Regions from separate parts of the Homo sapiens genome. Here regions 2, 3, 4, 5, 6 and 7 are each linked to region 1. Evidence: promoter capture Hi-C in 16 types of primary human blood cells and fetal thymus (Javierre and others, 2016). All regions are on one chromosome and are shown on one strand. The core of a region is centred on a gene start or on the middle of the fragment in contact, and the rest is flanking DNA. Distances in the headings are between cores, read along the strand shown.

Evidence for each region. Contacts are between HindIII fragments. The CHiCAGO score rates a contact against its expected background, and 5 or more counts as called.
Region 2: a fragment that was not itself captured here is called in contact with the fragment with the promoter of EDN1 in region 1 in 1 of 17 cell types (M2 macrophages); the score reaches 5.2 in M2 macrophages.
Region 3: a fragment that was not itself captured here is called in contact with the fragment with the promoter of EDN1 in region 1 in 4 of 17 cell types (naive B cells, megakaryocytes, naive CD8 T cells and 1 more); the score reaches 7.8 in naive B cells.
Region 4: a contact is called between a fragment that was not itself captured here and the fragment with the promoter of EDN1 in region 1, in 15 of 17 cell types (activated CD4 T cells, total CD8 T cells, naive CD4 T cells and 12 more). The highest score is 13.1, in activated CD4 T cells.
Region 5: a contact is called between a fragment that was not itself captured here and the fragment with the promoter of EDN1 in region 1, in 6 of 17 cell types (naive B cells, M2 macrophages, total CD8 T cells and 3 more). The highest score is 9.5, in naive B cells.
Region 6: a fragment that was not itself captured here is called in contact with the fragment with the promoter of EDN1 in region 1 in 13 of 17 cell types (M0 macrophages, M1 macrophages, activated CD4 T cells and 10 more); the score reaches 15.3 in M0 macrophages.
Region 7: a fragment that was not itself captured here is called in contact with the fragment with the promoter of EDN1 in region 1 in 15 of 17 cell types (naive B cells, total B cells, megakaryocytes and 12 more); the score reaches 16.6 in naive B cells.

The regions. Positions count from the first base shown.
Region 1 is chr6:12,288,844-12,291,851 of GRCh38, forward strand. It overlaps EDN1 (endothelin 1), which reads left to right and starts at 1,518. Exons shown (of 5, transcript NM_001955.5): 1 at 1,518-1,850. The coding sequence starts at 1,787. RefSeq lists enhancers at 1-127, 1,271-1,370, 1,381-1,450. The HindIII fragment of the contact is 4,555 bases long and covers 1-3,008 here.
Region 2 is chr6:12,897,949-12,900,734 of GRCh38, forward strand. All of the region lies in intron 4 of PHACTR1 (phosphatase and actin regulator 1), which reads left to right. Among named protein-coding and RNA genes, the nearest start is that of PHACTR1, 180 kb to the left of the region's middle. The HindIII fragment of the contact is 2,114 bases long and covers 316-2,429 here.
Region 3 is chr6:11,703,685-11,706,536 of GRCh38, forward strand. The region is part of intron 2 of LOC340184 (a long non-coding RNA gene); the gene reads left to right. Among named protein-coding and RNA genes, the nearest start is that of ADTRP, 74 kb to the right of the region's middle. The HindIII fragment of the contact is 4,209 bases long and covers 1-2,852 here.
Region 4 is chr6:11,669,326-11,672,137 of GRCh38, forward strand. No RefSeq gene overlaps it. Among named protein-coding and RNA genes, the nearest start is that of ADTRP, 110 kb to the right of the region's middle. The HindIII fragment of the contact is 4,847 bases long and covers 1-2,812 here.
Region 5 is chr6:11,720,804-11,723,674 of GRCh38, forward strand. ADTRP (androgen dependent TFPI regulating protein) reads right to left here. Exons shown (of 6, transcript NM_032744.4): 5 at 2,546-2,697. Among named protein-coding and RNA genes, the nearest start is that of ADTRP, 57 kb to the right of the region's middle. RefSeq lists an enhancer at 1,411-2,610. The HindIII fragment of the contact is 749 bases long and covers 1,209-1,957 here.
Region 6 is chr6:11,629,067-11,631,807 of GRCh38, forward strand. No RefSeq gene overlaps it. Among named protein-coding and RNA genes, the nearest start is that of TMEM170B, 93 kb to the left of the region's middle. The HindIII fragment of the contact is 858 bases long and covers 1,007-1,864 here.
Region 7 is chr6:11,685,492-11,688,635 of GRCh38, forward strand. No RefSeq gene overlaps it. Among named protein-coding and RNA genes, the nearest start is that of ADTRP, 92 kb to the right of the region's middle. The HindIII fragment of the contact is 2,932 bases long and covers 288-3,144 here.

The DNA.
Region 1 (3,008 bases), core at 268-2,767:
CGTGCTTGAATTCCACCCTCCATCCCCAGAAAAACTGGAGTAAAACAAAAAGAGGAGATGGACAAAGTGTGTATTTGATGGCATCCCCTGGGAAGAGACTCTAAATTTATCCCATAGGTCTTACTGGGCCACTGTGAGCGCTTTGGTGGAGAACAAACAAAAATTCTGGGTGCTCAGTTGTCTAACCTGAAAAATGGGACTAGCGGAAAAAGCCAATGTGTTCCATGCACCTTTTGCTTTCTTTATTAAGGCATGATGTCACCTGTACAGTAACTGCCCTGTGTGTACTTCAGGGGGGGATTTCAAGGTTAGATAGACAGGAAATTGTTTTGAAAATGTAAACACATTATTAAATGTGAAGTATTATCTGATTCCTTGTTCGAATGGCATTTCCTTCTCAGCACCACCTTCCTTGCATATTCACTTAACCTTGTACAAGAACACCTTTTTGCCCTAAATGAAGACACCCCCCCAAAAAAAAGAGTCCCAGAAAATATGTCCCTGCTTGTGCGGGGAATAAATAGAATATTCTGAGGTGCATTCCTCCTTCCTATGTTAGGCAACATTCCTTGACCCTCCTCGGCCCCCAAGCCAGGTTGCGTTTTTTTCTGCCATTTAGAAGGGTTTTCCTTTTTGTCCTAGTAAAACATCAGCCCCTGTAGCTCTTCATCTCCCCCTGGTGTTCTTCTCCCGCCATGTCTTAAGATTGGTGGCACCGACCAATCTTAAGATTTAAGTTCTGTGTGAAAAACACCTTTGCTTTTCAATCAGTTTATCAGCCTCCTCCGCAGGGGAAGTGTGGACACACAAAAGAACTTATCGGGGCTTCTCATCAGTGATAGGGAAAAGACTGGGCATGTGCCTAAACGAGCTCTGATGTTATTTTTAAGCTCCCTTTCTTGCCAATCCCTCACGGATCTTTCTCCGATAGATGCAAAGAACTTCAGCAAAAAAGACCCGCAGGAAGGGGCTTGAAGAGAAAAGTACGTTGATCTGCCAAAATAGTCTGACCCCCAGTAGTGGGGCAGTGACGAGGGAGAGCATTCCCTTGTTTGACTGAGACTAGAATCGGAGAGACATAAAAGGAAAATGAAGCGAGCAACAATTAAAAAAAATTCCCCGCACACAACAATACAATCTATTTAAACTGTGGCTCATACTTTTCATACCAATGGTATGACTTTTTTTCTGGAGTCCCCTCTTCTGATTCTTGAACTCCGGGGCTGGCAGCTTGCAAAGGGGAAGCGGACTCCAGCACTGCACGGGCAGGTTTAGCAAAGGTCTCTAATGGGTATTTTCTTTTTCTTAGCCCTGCCCCCGAATTGTCAGACGGCGGGCGTCTGCCTCTGAAGTTAGCAGTGATTTCCTTTCGGGCCTGGCCTTATCTCCGGCTGCACGTTGCCTGTTGGTGACTAATAACACAATAACATTGTCTGGGGCTGGAATAAAGTCGGAGCTGTTTACCCCCACTCTAATAGGGGTTCAATATAAAAAGCCGGCAGAGAGCTGTCCAAGTCAGACGCGCCTCTGCATCTGCGCCAGGCGAACGGGTCCTGCGCCTCCTGCAGTCCCAGCTCTCCACCGCCGCGTGCGCCTGCAGACGCTCCGCTCGCTGCCTTCTCTCCTGGCAGGCGCTGCCTTTTCTCCCCGTTAAAAGGGCACTTGGGCTGAAGGATCGCTTTGAGATCTGAGGAACCCGCAGCGCTTTGAGGGACCTGAAGCTGTTTTTCTTCGTTTTCCTTTGGGTTCAGTTTGAACGGGAGGTTTTTGATCCCTTTTTTTCAGAATGGATTATTTGCTCATGATTTTCTCTCTGCTGTTTGTGGCTTGCCAAGGAGCTCCAGAAACAGGTAGGCACGCTCGTTGACTTGTAAGTCTCGGAATTACAAGTTAGTGTGTTCTTATCCACCTTCATGCTTTTCTTGCTTCTATTTTTCCCCGTTCTTTTTATGACTGCAGCTTAGAGAGCAAGTGTCTGAGAATTATTGCTGAAAGCTACTTTAAGTCTTCTAGTGTAAAATGTAAAATTCCTCTATTGAATACAATTAGGTGCAATTGACTATAACATGACATTAAAATAACTTATCGTTTTATTATTATTATTCCATTATGTGTTTCCTTGGCTTTTAAAAAATGAGAAGAGTATGGACATATACAATTTAGTCAAATGTATGTTTGTAATATATGTGTTTATACAGGTACACAGGCCATATAGGAACTTAAATCTTATTTAAACACTATTTTAATAGTGTGTTAACGTGTAAAATATTTAAGCATTCCAGCTTGAAGCCAAGGAATTGTATCCAGTCGTTCAAGCAATGTATGTTCAGTAAAATCACCTGCAGAGCAAAAGTCTGTTGACTAACTACCGCCTCCCCCCCCCCCCGCCACCACCCCCCGCAGGCGGTTTCTGGGTGAAGCAGATGTTTTCTTTAAAATTTGTCATCATTGACTTTAGGTTTCTTTTGGCAGGTTTTTGGCACCCAAAACAGTGTGAGCTCTCTTTTCAGCTTTATTCACCTGTGCTGGGAGGGGAGCTAGGATAATTCTTGGCTGCCGAAGGATTTAGGCAGTGCGTGTGCATCTGCCCGGGTCCCCCCCGTTTTTAGGGTCAGTGCACTTTTTTTGTCTTTTCGTGACCCTGACTAAAGAGAAAGGATGTCAAGGGAATGAAAATCCTGGAATGTGTCTGATCATTTGAAATGTACAAAATTGGGCAGATAAGCTGCATGGCTAAATTGTTAGGAGGAAGAGGCAAGGCAGTAGTGGAGAAGGGGGAGGCAGTGGATCCCACACAAGCCTGATGCCCAGGGATTCGGAATTCAAAATCCCCCCAGCCTACCTTCAGTCCCCTGACCTGCTTCTCAGCCCCACCTTAGGTCACTGGTTTCTATGGAGTTACCCTCCTGAATTGAATATTGAATAGTTAATTTCTCTCTCCAATCATTTTCCCCACCTAATTTTGAAAGATATACATCATCTGGGGTACCCTGTGCCCTACACAGCAT
Region 2 (2,786 bases), core at 123-2,622, 610 kb after region 1:
GTGAGAACATGTGGTATTTGGTTTTCTGTTCTTGTGTTAGTTTGCTGAGAATAATGGTTTCCAGCTTCATCCATGTGCCTGCAAAGGACATGAACTGATATCTTTATTCTACTGAACTTCCGGGGCAGCATTTAGCACTGTGGACCACTGTCTCCTTGAATCACTCATTTTATTTCACCTCAGGCCACCTCATTCTCTTAGGGTTTCTCTTTTTCCTATCTCTCTGTCCATTTTTGCCACTTCTCCTTCCTTTTGTTCTCCTAAACCTTATGTTTACACACGGTCCTGCCCTCTACCATTTTCTCTTCTCTGGAAAGCTTCCCTGCCCAAGGGATCCGTCCACTCCTTCGTCTCCAAATACCGACGGGAGCTGATGACTCTCAAAGCTCCACTTCATTCGAGCTTGCCCTCCTCAATCCTAAAACCATGTGTCCAACAGACCCCACAACCCCAACATGTCCCCGACTCAGCCTCCACTCGCCCTCAGCCCACTTCTATAGTTCCTGTCTCCATCAGCAGCAATGCCAAGAGCCTATTTGCCAAACCAGAAACCTGGCAATCCTCCTTCATGACCAAATGGCCAACTCCTGTCAAATCGACTTCCTAAATGTCTCAGACATATCTGCCTCCTTTTATCTTGGCCGCTGCTACTTTTAATCCAGGCTACTGACATTGACTCGCACTGGGACCACCTTGGCCAGCTCCTGGCAGGACTCATTGCTTCCATTCTTTCGGATCCAGTCTCGTGCTGCAGGCAGAACACTCTTTCTCTCTCTGTCGGCCGCAATCTGTCCTTGTTGCCGGGACTTCCCCATCGATGTCAGAATGCAAATTCCTTAGCTTATGCTCTGTGAGGTTCTCTGTAATCTACCCGCTTGCCTTCCACCCTTCTATGTGTTGATCAGCTCCCCTGCACCGCACTGCAGCCCTGTTCCCAGTACTTGCAGTTCCTTCAACTTGCCTCGCTGTATCTCACCCCTTGCCCTTTGCACATGCTGTTCCCCTGGGCCTGTCTGAAATGTGCTTCCACCAGCAAAGCTACCCCACTCCACTTCTGGCCTATGCTTCCTCATATGCAGCTTCCCTGGTAAAGCCTCCTTTGGTCCCCAGTATCTGTGACAGTGGCCTCCCTGCATTCTCCCAGAGCACCTGTGCGTGCTTCCCTCACATCACTTCTTACATTGGACTGAAATTGCTGCTTGTCTGTGGTTTCCCCACTTTAATAGGGCTGTACCTTCCTTACAGGAGGGGCCAAATCTTATTCATGATTTGCCCACACCTATCACATGCCTGACATACAGTAAGGGATCAAGAAATATTCATTGCAGCAAGGTTTTACTTTCCTAATGCAGGGTTGTTATGGGGAATAGTGATGGAAATAATCATTTTAAAGGCATTAAAGTAATAACAGCACCCCCAGAGAAAGATGATATATCAGCCTTTTACCTGTTAATGTAATTTTCAGACATATCTGTATGTCATAAACTGTTAAAATAGCCCAGCTAATAGGGTTCCTTTAATTTGTCTGAGTGAATGAATAAAACTATAATTAAAAGGGTGTGCCTTGTAGTTACTTGCAAGTATTCATAAAAATCAGACACTAAAGTAATAAAACAGTCAGTGACAAGAGAGGCAAGCTGCAATTTCCAGGTACTGGAGTCACTGTGTGTTTGCCTGCACCCTCTTCTGGGTTGACTGAGAATAGCTTAAGCGTTGAAAAGACTCCCAAAGGACATCTTTATGCTTAGGATAAGCCCTGCAGTGTGGTTTCACATTCAGATCAACTCTGTCTTTCTAAATGAGAAGGAATTGTTGAGGAAAGTGTATGACATTACGATTGATCAAGAAACTGCTTTTTTCCAGCATGGCATGAGCTCACTGCGCAGGAGACTGCACGCCCGGGTCTGTGATGTGTGGTGCCTCCCTGTGTCCATCCCACTGAGAGGGATGGGCTCCATGGTGGTCACAAGAGGGCCATCATCACTGGGGACACAGCTTGCCCCCTTACACCACCAGTGGCCCCTGCCCTGGCAGCCAGAAAACCAAGCTAGGGGACCTCCTCTGTCTAGTGGACCCTCCCTGAAGCACATTGGCCAGATTTAGCAAATATTTAACAAATATTTTATCTGGCAACCCTATCTCTGACATACCTCACCCCACTGTATCGCCTTCTGGTCTCCTTGCTTCACTTCTTCAAACCACTTGTTCTTCCTCTTAAAGATTGGCCTCTTAAATTGCTTGAACTTAAGATTTTTTACTTTATTATTTTTAACTTGTCTGAATCCCTCCTTCCCCCTCTTTCTGTTGTTTTTAAACAACTTCCATTTAGCTCATCATTTTTTTTTTCGAAGCGGATACCTTTATCTTGTGATTTATTATTACTTTCATCTTACTTTAACTCCCACTCATCTTGTGCTGAGAGGCTTTCAAGCTTTACATTTTCTGGTCTCTAAAATTGTTTGTTCTTTTGCATTGTCTTGGCTTATTTTAATATTTTATCATGGGAAGCTGAGGTGAGTGGATTGCTTAAGTCCAGGAGTTTGAGGCCAGCCTGGACAACATGGCGAAACCCTGTCTCTACAAAAAATACAAAAATACACTACGCCAGGCGTACTGGTGTGTGCCTGTAGTCCCAGCTACTTGGGCGGCTGAGTGGGGAGGATTACCTGAGCCCAGGAGGTAGAGGCTGCAGTGAGCAGAGATTGTGCCATTGTACTCCAGCCTGGGCAACACAGTGAGACCCTGTCTCAAAATATATATACATATCAATTTTTATATTAAAGTCC
Region 3 (2,852 bases), core at 336-2,835, 590 kb before region 1:
ATTGTGAAGGGAACAGAAGCAGGATTTGGTAGAAGTTGTGTGGTTTAATGGAAAGGGGGTAGGTGTCAGAGCCAGCCAGAATGAGCTCTGTGCTGTCACTGGGTAATTCTTTGTTGGAAAAATCTGTCAACCTTACTGAGCTTCAGTTTCTTTTTCCTTAATATTGAGAGAATGATGCCTGTCTCTCTGAGCATGGTGAGGCCTAGAGATAATGAATTGCAAATGCCTGTCCTGTAGTGGGCACTCAACAGATGGTATAAATTACGGGTGACTCCTTGAACCAGGAAAGACACGTGAGAAGTGTTAAAAGCTGGAATTTAACATCTCAATCCCCTCATTTGTCAAATAGGAATAATGTATTGGGTTGAATATGGTCTCACCCCTTTCACCCCCAATACGCACGTCCACCTAAAACCTCCGAATGTGACCGTATTTGGAAATATGGTCTTTACAGATGTGATTAGTTTAGGATCCTGAAATAAATGATACTAGACTTACAGTAGACTCTAAATCTGTGACTAGCATCCTTATAAGAGAAAGGACAGGGAGATTTGAATACAGATTCCAGATTCTCTGTAAGGTAAGAGGTGCAGAGACACACAGGGAAGAATGCCATGTGGAAACAGGCAGATATTGGAGTGATGTGGCCACAAACCAAGGATTAGTGGGAGCCACCAGGATGAAAGATTCTTCCTCAGAGGCTTCAGAGGAAGCATAGTAATCCTGACACCTTGATTTCAGACTGCTGGCTAGCAGAACTGTGAGAGGATACATTTCTATTTTATTTATTTATTTATTTATTTATTTATTTATTGACACAGTCTAGTTCTGTCACCCAGGCTGGAGTCTAGTGGCACGATCTTGGCTCACTGCAATTTTCAATCCCTACTGCCCAGGTTCAAGCGATTCTCCTGCCTCAGCCTCCCGAGTAGCTGGGATTACAGGCGCCCGCCACCATGCCCAGCTAATTTTTGTAGTTTTAGTAGAGACGGTACAAGGGGTTTCACTGTGTTGTCCAGGCTGGTCTCGAACTCCTGACCTCGTGAGCCACCCACCTTAGCCTCCCAAAGTGCTGGGATTACAGGCAGGAGCCACCATGCCCGGCCACATTTCTATCATTTTTAAGCCACCTGGTTTGTGATACTTGGCTATAGTAGCTCCAGGAAACTAAAACAGATAATAATAGTAACTATACTACTTCTACGTTATTGTAACTAAAATAAATTTATATTGCAAATATAACTAAATTTAGTAATAGTGAAATTTTAGCTAAATGTGAATTGGGATTATTTAGATGCTAGGTAAGCAGTCTAGGGCGATGATTTCTGTGCTAGGAACAAAGGCCACTGGTGCTTGGAGGGCCTTTCAAGTGTGACTGTGTGAGGGATACAGTGAAATGGCAAGAGTTGAGTTTAGGAAGGGACAAGGTGAGATGCAATAAGTCAACACCAAAGAGTGCCCTCTCGGGCACCTCCACTCACCAACCAGGGAAGAGCAGCTGGTTATCCTTTGATCTCTATCTCACAAGCACCTCATGCACAAATAGCTTAGCATCTTCTTGGCTGTCATCTTGGGGATCCCCCTTAAAGTTATACTTTCAATCCCATTCCCAATAAGCGACCACAGAACCACGATTCATGCAGCCGCGGCATTTTCGTTAAGCCCTAGAATGAATGGGTAAGTTTCCCTTTGTCATTGTGTATATAGTCATGCAAATAATCCGTGTCTTCCATGCTTGGGGTCTAAAATGGTTCCCAAGTGGACTTAGATATGTTCCTCTGTGAATTGGCAGGGCATTTTGGAATGGTTCTTTCCTTCCCCTTGATTTGAGGATTACATGGAAATCCACATTGCTGAGTGGGAAAACTCTGAATTGGTGTCCAGCAGTTCTTTTGGCCTCTTCCTCTTAGTTTGGTGATATGTGACGGCAATAAAAGGTCATGATGGCAGGATGAGTCTGGAAAAGGAGAAATACTGGCAGTGATACTGCAATCTATTTTGCAAGAAAGAGAATTTTATTTAACCACATGATTTTAAAAATTGGCAAAGTTGCCGGGTGCAGTGCCTCACGCCTGTAACCCCAGCACTTTGGGAGGCCAGGGTGGGTGGATTCATCTGAGGTCAGGAGCTCGAAACCAGCCTGACCAACATGGTGAAACCCCATCTGTACTAAAAATACAAAATTAGCTGGGCATGGTGGCACACGCCTGTAATCCCAGCGACTCGGGAGGCTGAGGCAGGAGAATCACTTGAACCCAGGAGGCGGAGGTTGCAGTAAGCCGAGATTGTGCCATTGCACTCCAGCCTGGGCAAGAAGAGTGAAACTCCATCTCAAAAAAAAAAAAAAAAAATTGGCAAAGTTCAGTTAATGTATATATATAAAATGACAACATAAGTGCATTTTAGAATGTAGCTAGAAAAATTTTAATAAGGAATAAAACATGTCTAGATGGGAGTCTTCAGAATCACGTACCAGATTCCTGGCAAGGTATTGTAAAAGTCATACAGTACATGTTTTCCTAACTCTATGTCATCTAACTTCATTATTAGAATCTTAATAAAATTTAGTGTTGAGTGAAAACAAATCCCTAAAGTGTAACCAAATATATTTGCTCAGGCCAGACTTAAGCCTCAGCGGAAGGTTTTGTAAGCTCTTACGGTGGAAGGGATCTTTTTCTTCTTCCTGTTAGCATCTCAGAGGAGCTGAGTCTAGCAGAGCAGCTGCTAACAGAGGAAGCTGGGAAAGCCAGGCTTGGCGTCCCAAAGGAGCGGCAAGATGAAAGCATGCAATCCTCCATACAGGCCTGCAAATGCCAGGTGGATGACCACCATGTCCTTACACTCAGGCCATG
Region 4 (2,812 bases), core at 123-2,622, 620 kb before region 1:
TGAACTAGGGTGGCGGTATGGAGACCTAAGTGGAGATGTAAGGGAGTAGAAGTATTTGTAAAAAGGCAGCAATGTTTCCATAGGATCTGCTTCATACTGCTGGTTTTCAATCACTTACCCTATGACTTGAAAACTTACTTTACTTCTCCATGCCTGTTTCCTCATCTGTACAAATGAGGTATAATAATGATTTCTATATCATAGGGTTATTGAGAGGATTAAATTAATAGAAGTAAAATGCTTAGAAAAGTACCTGGAACACAATAATCACACATACCACATTCTACATATACATACACACATATATAAACTTACAGCAATTAAGAAGCTATTTAAAAAATAAAACTGACAGGACTGGGAGATAAATTGAGTATCTAAAGAAAGGGAGAGGTAGATGTGTATCTGCCAGACCTCTTACTCGCAAACAATAGATATCGACTCTGTTATTTAAGTTGAAAGAAACTGATAAGGAAAGGAATAGGCAGAAAAAAGGTGCACTTCCTACCAAAATGGAGTAATAGGGAACCATATTTCCCCTCCTACTTGGAATGACTAAGAAATTGGACAAAATTATATGAAGAAACAGATTTCAAGATATTGGACATTAGGCAATGAAGGGCGGTTATTTTTAAGAGATGGGGATGGGAAATGACGTGAGCCTTACAAATGCCCCAGTTTACCACCTTGAGAGAATTTCTAGGCTGCAGTGCAGCAAGGGTGAACCCAAAAGGAGTCTGCTGCTCACCCTGAGTTGAGGAGGTGGAGCCTCCAGAGAGTTCACAGTAGTTAGAGTTTTCAGGGTACAGCATCAGAGAGGAGAGAGCTGCATGGAGTGATAACTCTGAAGATGTACATAGGGTCCTTCTTGAGTCCTGAGCACTGAGCCTCAGTACTTCTAGAGAGGTACTCATTCTGAGCAGCACATATGGTAAAGAAAACTACCTGAGACCAGAGAAAAACACCTGAAAGGAAGAGAGGGTAGTCAGAGTCAGAGCTCACACAAAGCTGGGAATAGTGTCTGTGCCTGGCCAGACTGGAAAATGAGTCATGGAATAGAATACTTAGAAGGGTCTTAGGCAGGGGAAATTATCACTAGACTAAATGCCACTCCAGTACTCCCTAACAAATCTTAAAAGCAAGCCCTGAAAGAATTGAACTATTTCAAAATAATTAAACTATTAATTATTTTGAAATAATTTATCTCCCAGAACAAATCTCAATTTTATATATATATGAATTTTTTAAAATCCACTACCTAATATGGTAAAATTGACAATGTGTGACATCAAATAAGAAATTATCAGGCATATAAAAAATTGGGAAATATGAACAATATTGAGAAAAATTAATCAATCAAAACTCATAAGCAAATCAGAACTCACAAGATGTCAGAATCAGGGAACGAGGACATTGAAACAGTTACTACAAGTGCCTTCCATTTATTAAAAAAAAGCTAGAGTAGAGATTCAACATGTTAAGTTGTACAAAATATTAACAGTGACTCATATTTAACTTCTAAAAAAGAAAACTAAACTGCCTCAGATGAAGAATACATTGTATGGGATTAATGGCAGATTAGACATTGCAGAAGAAAAGATTAGTGAGTTGAACAGCATAACAATAGAAAGTACCCAAGTGAAATTCAGAGATAACAAAAGACTAAAAATTCAATGAACAGAACATCATTGATATATTGGATAATTTGAAAGAATGTAATGTAGATATAATTGGAGTCTCTAAAACAGAAGAGAAAGAAAGGAAAAAGAGAAAACTAAAGAAACAATGGCTGAAGATTTCCCAGATATGATGAAAACCATAAACCCAAATATCCAAGAAACTCAGCAAATCCTAAGTACAAGAAACACAAAGGCACATAAGAAATGGCTCAAAATTAGTGAAAAAGAGAAAATCACTTAAAAACAGATAAAAAGGTACTATATACACAAAAGAATGAAAATAATAGTGACAGCAAAATTTCTACTGGAAACAATCTAAGTAAAAGAAGAAAAACATCTTTAAAATTCTAAAATGAAAAAAAAACCAACTGCCAATCTATCATTCTGTGGTGAAAATATAATTCAAAAACAAAAATGAAGAAGGACTTTGAAGACATAAAAAAGGTGAAAATATTCATCACCACTGGATCTATACTACAAAACATACTTAAAGATGTTGAAGTGAAATGTATGGTAAACATAGCACAAAGGCTGGGAGAAATAACATGGACATATAATATCATAAATGATGAAGTGGTATAAGCATTACTAGAATGTAGACTGTGATAAGTTAGAGATGTATACTGTATACTGTAAATGCTAGAGTAACCACTAAAATAACAAAACAAAGAGATCTAGCTAAGGAGCTAGAAGGAGATGAAGTGGAGTAATAAAATCGTTCAATTAATACAAAGGGCCACAGAAAAAGAAATCTGTAACAAAGAACAGATAGAAAACAAATAGCAAAATAGTAGCTTTAAACCTAACCATATCAATTATCAATTATCACATGAAATGTCTAAGTACCTCCATTATAAACCAGAAGTGGTCAAATTATATACTGCCTACAGAAATCTACATTTAATATAATGATACAAATAGTTTAAAAATAAAAGCATGAAAAAAGATATAATATGCTAACACTAATTAAAAGAAAGCTGGGATGACAATATTGCTGTCAGATAAAGTATATTTCAAAGCAAAAAACATTACAAGAGATAGAGTCATTTTATAATGAAAAAGTGGTCATTTTTATCAAGAGAATATAACAATCTTAAACTTGAATGCACCTAATAACAAAGTTTCAAAGTAAATAA
Region 5 (2,871 bases), core at 333-2,832, 570 kb before region 1:
ACCCTCCTATACTCCTTAAACTCCCTGCCCAATACTCTACAGCCATTAGAGTCACTCCTTATCTGCTGTCTCCAGAACACCTTTGCAAAAAGTTGTACTTTACACCTAGGAAAAAAGGCCCTTGGATATTCTATTGTCTGCACTGATTGAGGCAACGAGAAAGCTAATGGAAATAGTGGATCTTGAGATGAACAAGACATACCCCTAATTCGTAAGACACCCGAGGTCTAGTGGAAAAACAAATCCCTAAAGCAGTAGTAAAACCGCAGTCATGATAAAATGGTAAGTCTGGTGACTGGGAGGTAAAGGGGGAAGCACTGGGAAGGGCATGAAGTCCAACCTGGGCTGACCAGGGAAGGCTTCCTGGAAGAGGCGAGTGTTGAAATGCATGAGTATGAACCAGGCAAAGACTGGAGGAGACACAGAATCCCGTGGACGTAAGAAACAACATCAACGTGGAGGGAAAACCAGCAGTTTGGTGCCACTGGGGCACACATATAGAAGAGCAAAAGCCAAAGCAGGGACTGGGTCACAGAGGCCCTTGTGTGTCATTCCAAGGGTGTGGACTTTCTTCAGTCAATTGGGGGAAGCCTTAGAAAGTGTTTTCAGTAGAATAGGACATGGGGAAATGTGTTCACATAGGTTATTTAGCTTTCAGCAATGTAAAAGTGTTCACTGCATTGCAACTTTAACAAATCTAATTTTTCTTTAATTCGTATTAAATTATTTATAATTAATAAAGATCTGTTCAAGATTTAATACATTTCTGATCTTATTCTGATGTTAAATAGGACCTTTTACCCTTTCTCTTCTTTAAAAAGTTAAAAATCTAGAAAGACCTCGAGAGGTAAGTACAGTCATTTACAATCGTCTCTTTCTACTTGAAAACTTGCATGTACATGAGGTAGTTGAGGGTCCATATGATGCCAGCTTATCTGTTTATTGAGACCTAATTATAGTTAAAAATTGGATGCAGTACTTAAACAATGAGGCTTGTTAAGAACGTTGTATTGAGAATAGTAATTTCAATAATAATAAATATGATGATAATTTTGTTTTTTAATTCAATGGATGTTTAAAATTCACCATAGAGTAACAATTTAAAAATTAACTCAATACATTATTGAACTCAATACAATTGATTTTAAAAGTTATTGTTCTCTAAGCTCTAAGTAATCAAGTTTTTCTCTGTACTTCCTATATCTTAAAGCTTCTTTAAATATATATAGAGAGAGAGAGATTTGGGGAGGCATCAGAAATCTTTACCCAGAACTTCAAGGAGCCAAAACTAGTTAGAATTATATGTCAACACATCTGAAATGTCAACACATTTTTTTTTTTGCGATAATTTTCTGTGATTTGGAATCCTGATTGGGAAGTAATTTTTAGTATTCCATTTTTTTAAGTGTTTGCTTTCAAAGAGAATTTTGCCCTTGAGAGTTTCTTAAACCAGTCAAATTCTCCAAGAGTAGAAAACATGTGATACATCCAAGTTGCGTGCTTATTTCTCCAGGGTCTCAGCTTCCTCTCAGAAACGCACACTCTGGTACTGAACCTTCTGAAACTGTCAGGTTTTTTTTGCATACACGGGCTTATGTTTTCACACCAGTTCATAGATTGGGCGGAAGATGGCACTTCTGCCATCTCTATTTTGATAGAACAGAATGGCATGTGGGCGAGTGATGTGGGGGACTGGGTGTGACTCTTTGCCATCCTTATATACAGAATCAGGGTAGAGTTCCTGCGCTTCTCCTGGGGTAGGGAAGCAAGTCATGGGTGTTTTACAGCCTGACTTTCTGGTAGTTACTTTTCCAACAATAAAAAAATATTCTGGGGTGGGGTGGGGAGAGAGGAAGCAGGAAGGAGAATGAAATCTTCCATTTTAAAATTAACTAAGTTAAGATGATTTTTTTTTCTTAGGAAGAAGCAACAGGATTGTACCCACCTATAACGAGAAAGCTTAACTTACTGACATATTCTCATTGCTGAAGACTCTGTCTGAATGAGGATTTCAATCTCAAGTCTAGGATGTGATTTCATCTGGTAAATGTCTTATGGAAGGCTGAGGAGCAGCCTAATGAGGTACTGCTGAGTTGGGAGGAGGTGGGAGGAGCTGAGAGGGCTATCTGGACTCACTTCCCTCAAAATGAAACCTTGATATTTTCAAAGCTTGTGTCCCTGGAGCCCTCACTTGGGTTAGGGGGAGACCCCTGATTTTATTTATTCATGCTAGGGATGGTAATACCTTGTTCTCTAGGTCCTGGGCTTTCTAAAGAAGATTATTTTTAGCTCTAAAGTTAAATGACACATTGTTTGGGGGAGGAGGGGAGATCCTTTGATGGGGTCCTTTAAAAGAGTGCCCCACCCCCAACGCTGTCCTCTTGCCTTGGCAGGACCTCTTGGCAGGACCTGTCTGAGTACTTTGGACAAAGACAGTAAGCATCATTGCTTCTGTTTGCGGCTAGTTTTTCTTTCTGTTTCCAGGTGAAGGGGAGAGGCAGACACGGAAGAAGCGCATCTGTAGCTAAGAAAGAAATACACTGACCCCATTTCCAGTGGTTGAGCTTCTCTCCAAGTAGGTAGATGCTGGCGATGAAGACGTAGCTGAGAGAGAAGAAAGCTGCTAGACCCAAGAGGCTGAGTTTGGCAAACACAGGATACACCCAGGTACCCGTCTCAAAGTAGAGCCATAGGATGCTGCAGGAAATAAGAAGTCGTGGTGGTTATAGCAGGAGGAGAAAAACAAGCCATTTTCTCATCAGGATTAATGAGGTACTGGTACCCAGGCAGGGGAAGAGAACCCATCAGGGACGTTTGTCAACAGCTGTAGTATTCCCACAAACCTAAAGAAGTGAGGCTTTTCTGGGTAAA
Region 6 (2,741 bases), core at 186-2,685, 660 kb before region 1:
GAGGAGAAAGCCATGGGAGGATGGAGGCAGAGCTTGGAGTGATACACCTGCTACTAAGGAATGCCAAAGATGGCGGGAGCCACCAGCAGCTAGGAGAGAGGCGAGGAACAGATTCTCCCTGTGAGCCCCTGGAAGCAATGAACCCTGCTGCCACCTTGATTTCAGATATCTGGCCTCCAGGACTGTGAAAGAAATGAGTTTCTGTTGCTTTGAAGTACCCAATACTGTTACACTGGTCTTTAAGAAAAAAATAAAATAGGTCGGGCATGGTGGCTCACACCTGTAATCTCAGCACTTTGGGAGGCTAAGGCAGGTGGATCACGAAGTTAAGAGATCAAGATCATACTGGCCAACGTGGTGAAACCCTGTCTCTACTAAAAATACAAAAATTAGCCAGGCGTGGTGGCATGTGCCTGTAGTCCCAGCTACTTAGGAGGCTGAGGCAGGAGAATCGCTTGAACCTGGGAGACAGAGGTTGCAGTGAGCCAAGATGGCGCCACTGCACTCCAGCCTGGCGACAGAGCAAGACTCCATCTCAACAAATAAATAAATAAATAAAATAAACCACCCAACTTGGGATCATTTGTTGCGGTAGCCTCAGGCAATGAATGCAGGGTTGTACCAGAAAATTCCTCATCATCCACCAGTTCTGTGGTTCCTCTGACACTGTTAATGGGGGGGCACTCTAACCCTCACTCTAATATTTCTTCTGAGTTTCTGTACTTGGCTTTCTGTGTTAGCTGGCCCTTTATCTCTGGGGCACCTCTATGCCAGAGAAGCCTTTTGTAAGAAGACTTTTGAAACTAGATCTCTATTTAGTGGCTAATCCTAACACCCAAGCAGAGATGGGCACAAAGACTGGGCTCCTAGCATGGCGCCCACTACTGATAATCATATACAATTGACAGTTTTCAGAGTGTCCTCGCATATATCATTTCATCCTCAGAGCAACTCCATAAAGAAGCAGGTCAAGAACAGTTACTTATTTTACCCAGGGGAAAACTGAAGCTTAGAGAACATAGAACGCTTTCGCTCGTCCCATAATTTGCGAATATATTTATGATGGAATTGGAGGGGACCAGGTTCTTTCTTTCTCTTGCATTAGTTAGAAATGTATTTGGCAACAAGTATCAGAACTCTTGATATTTCTGATGGTGGCTTAAAGAAATAAAGGTATGCTTATCTCAGAAAATAATCATCAGAGGAGGCCAGGGCAGGGCTGGTGTGTGACCCAAACATGGCACCCTCCTATTGCTCAAGGTCGTCTTCCCATTGCTCAGCACAGAGGGCTTTCCTTCCTACTTGCCTATCTGTTTTTTAGTGTGACTGCTATACCCCCAGGCTATCCAGTAGGGAGAATGGGAAGAAGTAAGAGGGCTACAGAGTGAAGAGCTTTCTCCTAACAAAGCTCTGCCCTTTGGCTTTAGGCCTCTTCCCCAGTGACGTCTGCCTACACATCACCAGTCAGAATTGTGTCTCGTGGAGGGTTGCTTCCCTGAGGAACACAGGTGTGGAGAAAGGGATAAATATGGGAGGGAAAAACTCTTCAGGGTTACCATTTCGAGTATGTTTTGTTTCCTAAAGTCTGCTTAGGTTGGTACTTGCTGCAATTTTCATTTCACTTGTCAAGTCTTATGGAGAACTGCTTACTCTTACGGTTAGTAGTATTAGAACAGCCACAGTCACCCTAGTAACAATGATGATGAAAAATATGATCAACTTCCACCTGCTCATCTGACTCTTTTTTCCTAATCTTTAGCAACACTCTGTGTTAGGTGGGAACAAAAACAATAAATACATTGCTGATTTTAATGTGAGATGTTCAAATCTCTGACATTTTTAACCTCTAAAGAAGGAGAACACAAGCTTTATTGAGGGCAAATATTTTTGTTATGTTGTTTAAAAAGTAGTATCCTGTGCCCTTGGCTCATTAGAACAGCAATAAACATGTAATGGGAAGGCTATTTTGTTTTCTGACGGGTGCTGTCATTTGCTTTCCTGTGAAAATTTTGGATGCCAAACTGAAATGCTGAAGAAAGTCTGTGCTCTGAAAATAAAATTACATCTTCCTGGAGACCCATGGGAACACGCAGGGGACGCTTGGCTGGGCCCTGTCAGTGACAGCTGCCATTCTGCCTGTGAAGTTCACAGATAATTAAGTTACACAGGGCGGGCTGGCTCCCAGTTGTTTCCTCCAGAGAAAGACCATTTCTTGGCCACTGAGCAGAGGTGGATTTGCCATGAAGGCCACATGAAGCTGAAGCCTGAGGGCCCCTCACTTGCGGTGGCCTGCTTGCTGCGAAGAACCCGCCAATGTCTACATAAGTCCTGTGTCTGACAGTTTGTAAGAGGAATCCTTTTTATTTCTTTTTCTTAAAGAGGGTCCCCCAGAGTGTCTAAAAGTCCAGGTTCCACCCGGGATGACATTGTCATCTCTGCATCTGGGACAACATTGTTGGCAAAAATTTCCCGAGATGCAGCAAGCATTTGCCTTTTCTCCTCCCTGTACCTCTGGTCCCCAACACAGAGCCTTTTTCTCCCCATGGCGTCTACACCTCTGGACTAGAAAAGCTCTCTGGGCCAGGCCGGAGAGGCATTCAGCCCTCCATGGCCGATTTTGAGGTGCTTTCATACTACAGAGGCATGAACAGACAGCTGCTGTACGGAGTGTTGACAGAAGAAAGCCAGGTTGGGGAAATCTTTGCCACTAAATGATCAGAAAAAAGGCCAAAAATATATCT
Region 7 (3,144 bases), core at 504-3,003, 600 kb before region 1:
AGGCTGGTCTCTCCAGGTATGTGAGGATAGGCATCTTCTGCTGGCAAAGGAGGTCAGATGACTCAGGGGTTCAGAATTCTGAGCTTGCTATGAATCCATCCTGATGTCATTCTTTCGAGTCTAAGGGTCATTATCTTTTCTAGTTGATACCCAACCTTCACTTGAGAAACTTGAGAGTCTATAAATTCAAATTCAACTTTCAACTCTGAAATCTGTGCAATTAACTTTTGTGTCTTATTTTCAGCAAACAAGAGAAAGAAATGATATTCTTTCAGGACTGGCCTGGAAGCTTCTTAATTATCTATGACTCAAGCTCAGAACTTAAAGAAGCAGGCTTTTTTTTTTCTTTCTTTCTTTTTTCCTTATGCAAGTGCTTTAGGGCATTCAGAGGGAGCCATTCCATACTATCACCCGTGTAGTCATCGTAGCTGCTGCAGTAGTCAAATGCAGAGGACATTTGGTTCTTCCAAGGCTCTTGCTTTAGTAAGCACTTGAAAAGCAACCACAGGTAATAGTTTTATAAACTGTGATGTCACTGCATGCCACTGGTTACTGGAATTCCATTTGCCATTAGCAGGAAGTTCAGCACTGCATTCAAGATGAGGGACCCAGCCAAAGCAAACCCACAATTCCATTGTTGATGTTTGGTCCTACTGATTTGGGTTCTAGACCCCCAAGGAAAGGATAGCCACCTGCTAGTGTTTCTGAGGGGGTATGAATATTGGAAAACTACAACTGGAATCTTCTGCTACTTCCCTAACCATCCCTGCCAAAGTAAAGGAGTGAGGCTGGGCGATGATGACAGCAACGGTACGCAAACAAGAAGAGTGAGTGCCTTCTTCTTCTCCAGCCATCTGGTCTTCCTCCACCCACCACTATTAGAGGAGGCACACCTGGGGCCAGGCACAGTGGCTCATGCCTGTAATCCCAGCACTTTGGGAGGCTGAGGTGGGCGGATCACTTGAGGTCAGGAGTTTGAGACCAGCCTGGCCAACATGGTGAAACTCCATCTCTACCAAAAATACCATCTCTACTAAAAATACAAAAATTAGCCAGGGTTGTTGGTGGGTGCCTGTAATCCCAGCGACTCAGGAGGCTGAGGTGGGAGTACAGGAGATTCGCTTGGACCTGGGAGGCAGAGGTTGCAGTGAGCCAAGATTGCACCACTGCACTCCAGCCTGGGTGCAGTGAGACTCTGTCTCAAAAAAAAAAGAAAAAAGGAAAGAAAAGGAAAGACACACTTGGAGGGAGCTGGTAAAGCAGAAATGGGATTTGCAAAGTCAGCCCCAGAATCACAAAGCCAAGTATAGAAGCATGAGTTTGAGTTTGATACCGAGAGAATAGCTTAATAACTGGCTCACTAATAAAGTGCACTAGGATGAAGTTTTAGCCACTTTTTCATTTAGTACACTTGTAAGACATGGTTAGAGTCTGGGCTGTAATTAAGGATATAGGAGAGGACATATATTTTCCCTTGAAAAGAAAATATTATTGGTTTCCCTATGAAATGTTTCTTTTTAACGTAGTCTCTGTGGAGTCACTCATTTACACTGTGAGCATTATTTATTAGCTCACGGATTTATAGAATACAAGTCAGGATGCACCTTCTAGGTTTATGGTGTTTGCTGCTGGGGGATTCTGTAGAATGGGAAAGAAACCTCATTTAAGCTAAGTTATGTTTTCAGCTGTGCCAGTAGCCAATTTATTTGAAGTTGGCTAGAGTCTTAGTCAATTTTCTTTTGCCACAGTCCATTATTTATCAACAGAGGTCTGTGTTAAAGAGAGAAAGAGATGAAAGAAAGAAAAAGAAAGAGAGAGGAACATACATTTAAAAATATATAAACACTTCATCGCGGCTCCTTGATCCATTTTCACAATCTCCCAGGGATTTGGGGAGAGGGAAGGAAGTGTGAGTCCCTTGCTTTAGGCACTGATTATATAAGGTGAGATTAATTTTCCCACATCGTGTATGGAATCCATCTCCTTGCTTGGCAGTCATAGTTCTGCCTCACTTAAATCTATTTGCATCTAGCTAAGCCCACAGAGGAGGGTGTAGCTTAGAATAGAATTTTGCCTTTCCAATGCTTCTTTGGGAACTTTTCAGGATGATGATAAAGGAAATAATATGGTTAGCTTCAAACGTGCTCATAATTCTTCTGCAACAAAAATTGAAAGCGAGGGGTTGAGAGAAAGGAAGAGACCTGGCTATCTTCTGGGTCATGCTGGAATGCGCTGTTGGTTTTCAAAGTGTGAGGAGTGTTTCAAGATAGTAGGGATCAGGGACAGGCCAAATGGACCCTGTGATGGGGGCCTCTGTTATCCTTCACTGCAGTTAATTAATAGCCTAAGGGAGAAGATAAAGGAGAAGAGAAATGCTTTAGAAAATAAATAAATAAAACGTGGGTACAGGGTCAAGTAGTGCTCTCGCTGTAGAAGGAGATGATTATTGTAATTAGCAGCAATGCATATGGATCGTGCCAATTTGTGAAAGCTGTGAGGGTGTCGTATTTCTTCTATTCTCTCCTCCTACAATCCTCTGCTAACTCGGCTACTCTTGTTAACCTGGTTACTCTGCTGTCTTTGTTTCTTCTCTTTCTCTCTCTCTCTCTCTGTGTGTGTGTGTGTGTGTGTGTGTGTGTGTGTGTGTGTGTATGTGCGTACGTCTGTAGGTAGCTAGATACATGGCTGTGGTAAGTAGTTCTACAGCAGGCAAATATCCCAAAACAGTCGAAAGGGCCAATGTTCTTAGTTGAATGCGACTCAAAATGCAACCAAGTCCATGGTTGCCTGTGATTAATATGAACTAACCCCCTCCCACTTGAGGATGAGAGAGGAGGATTGTGTTGCCTTAATATTCACAATTGTCCATTATCTCGCATATCAAAGAATGACTGAATTTTAAAGCTGGAAGGGCTTTAGAAATCACATTTTCTAACTTCTTATTTTTAAACATGAGAAAGCTGAGGCACGATAGGCTGAATTATGTCTCTGAAGTAACACAGCTGGAGGAAAGCTGGGCCAGGATTGGAAAACAAAGGTTTGCCAGTAACTTTATTGCTGCTTCTTACATGTGATGTACACATGAATAGAAGAGGGTAAATACAATATGTATGCATAGTGTAATATGTAAATACATTCAGCTAT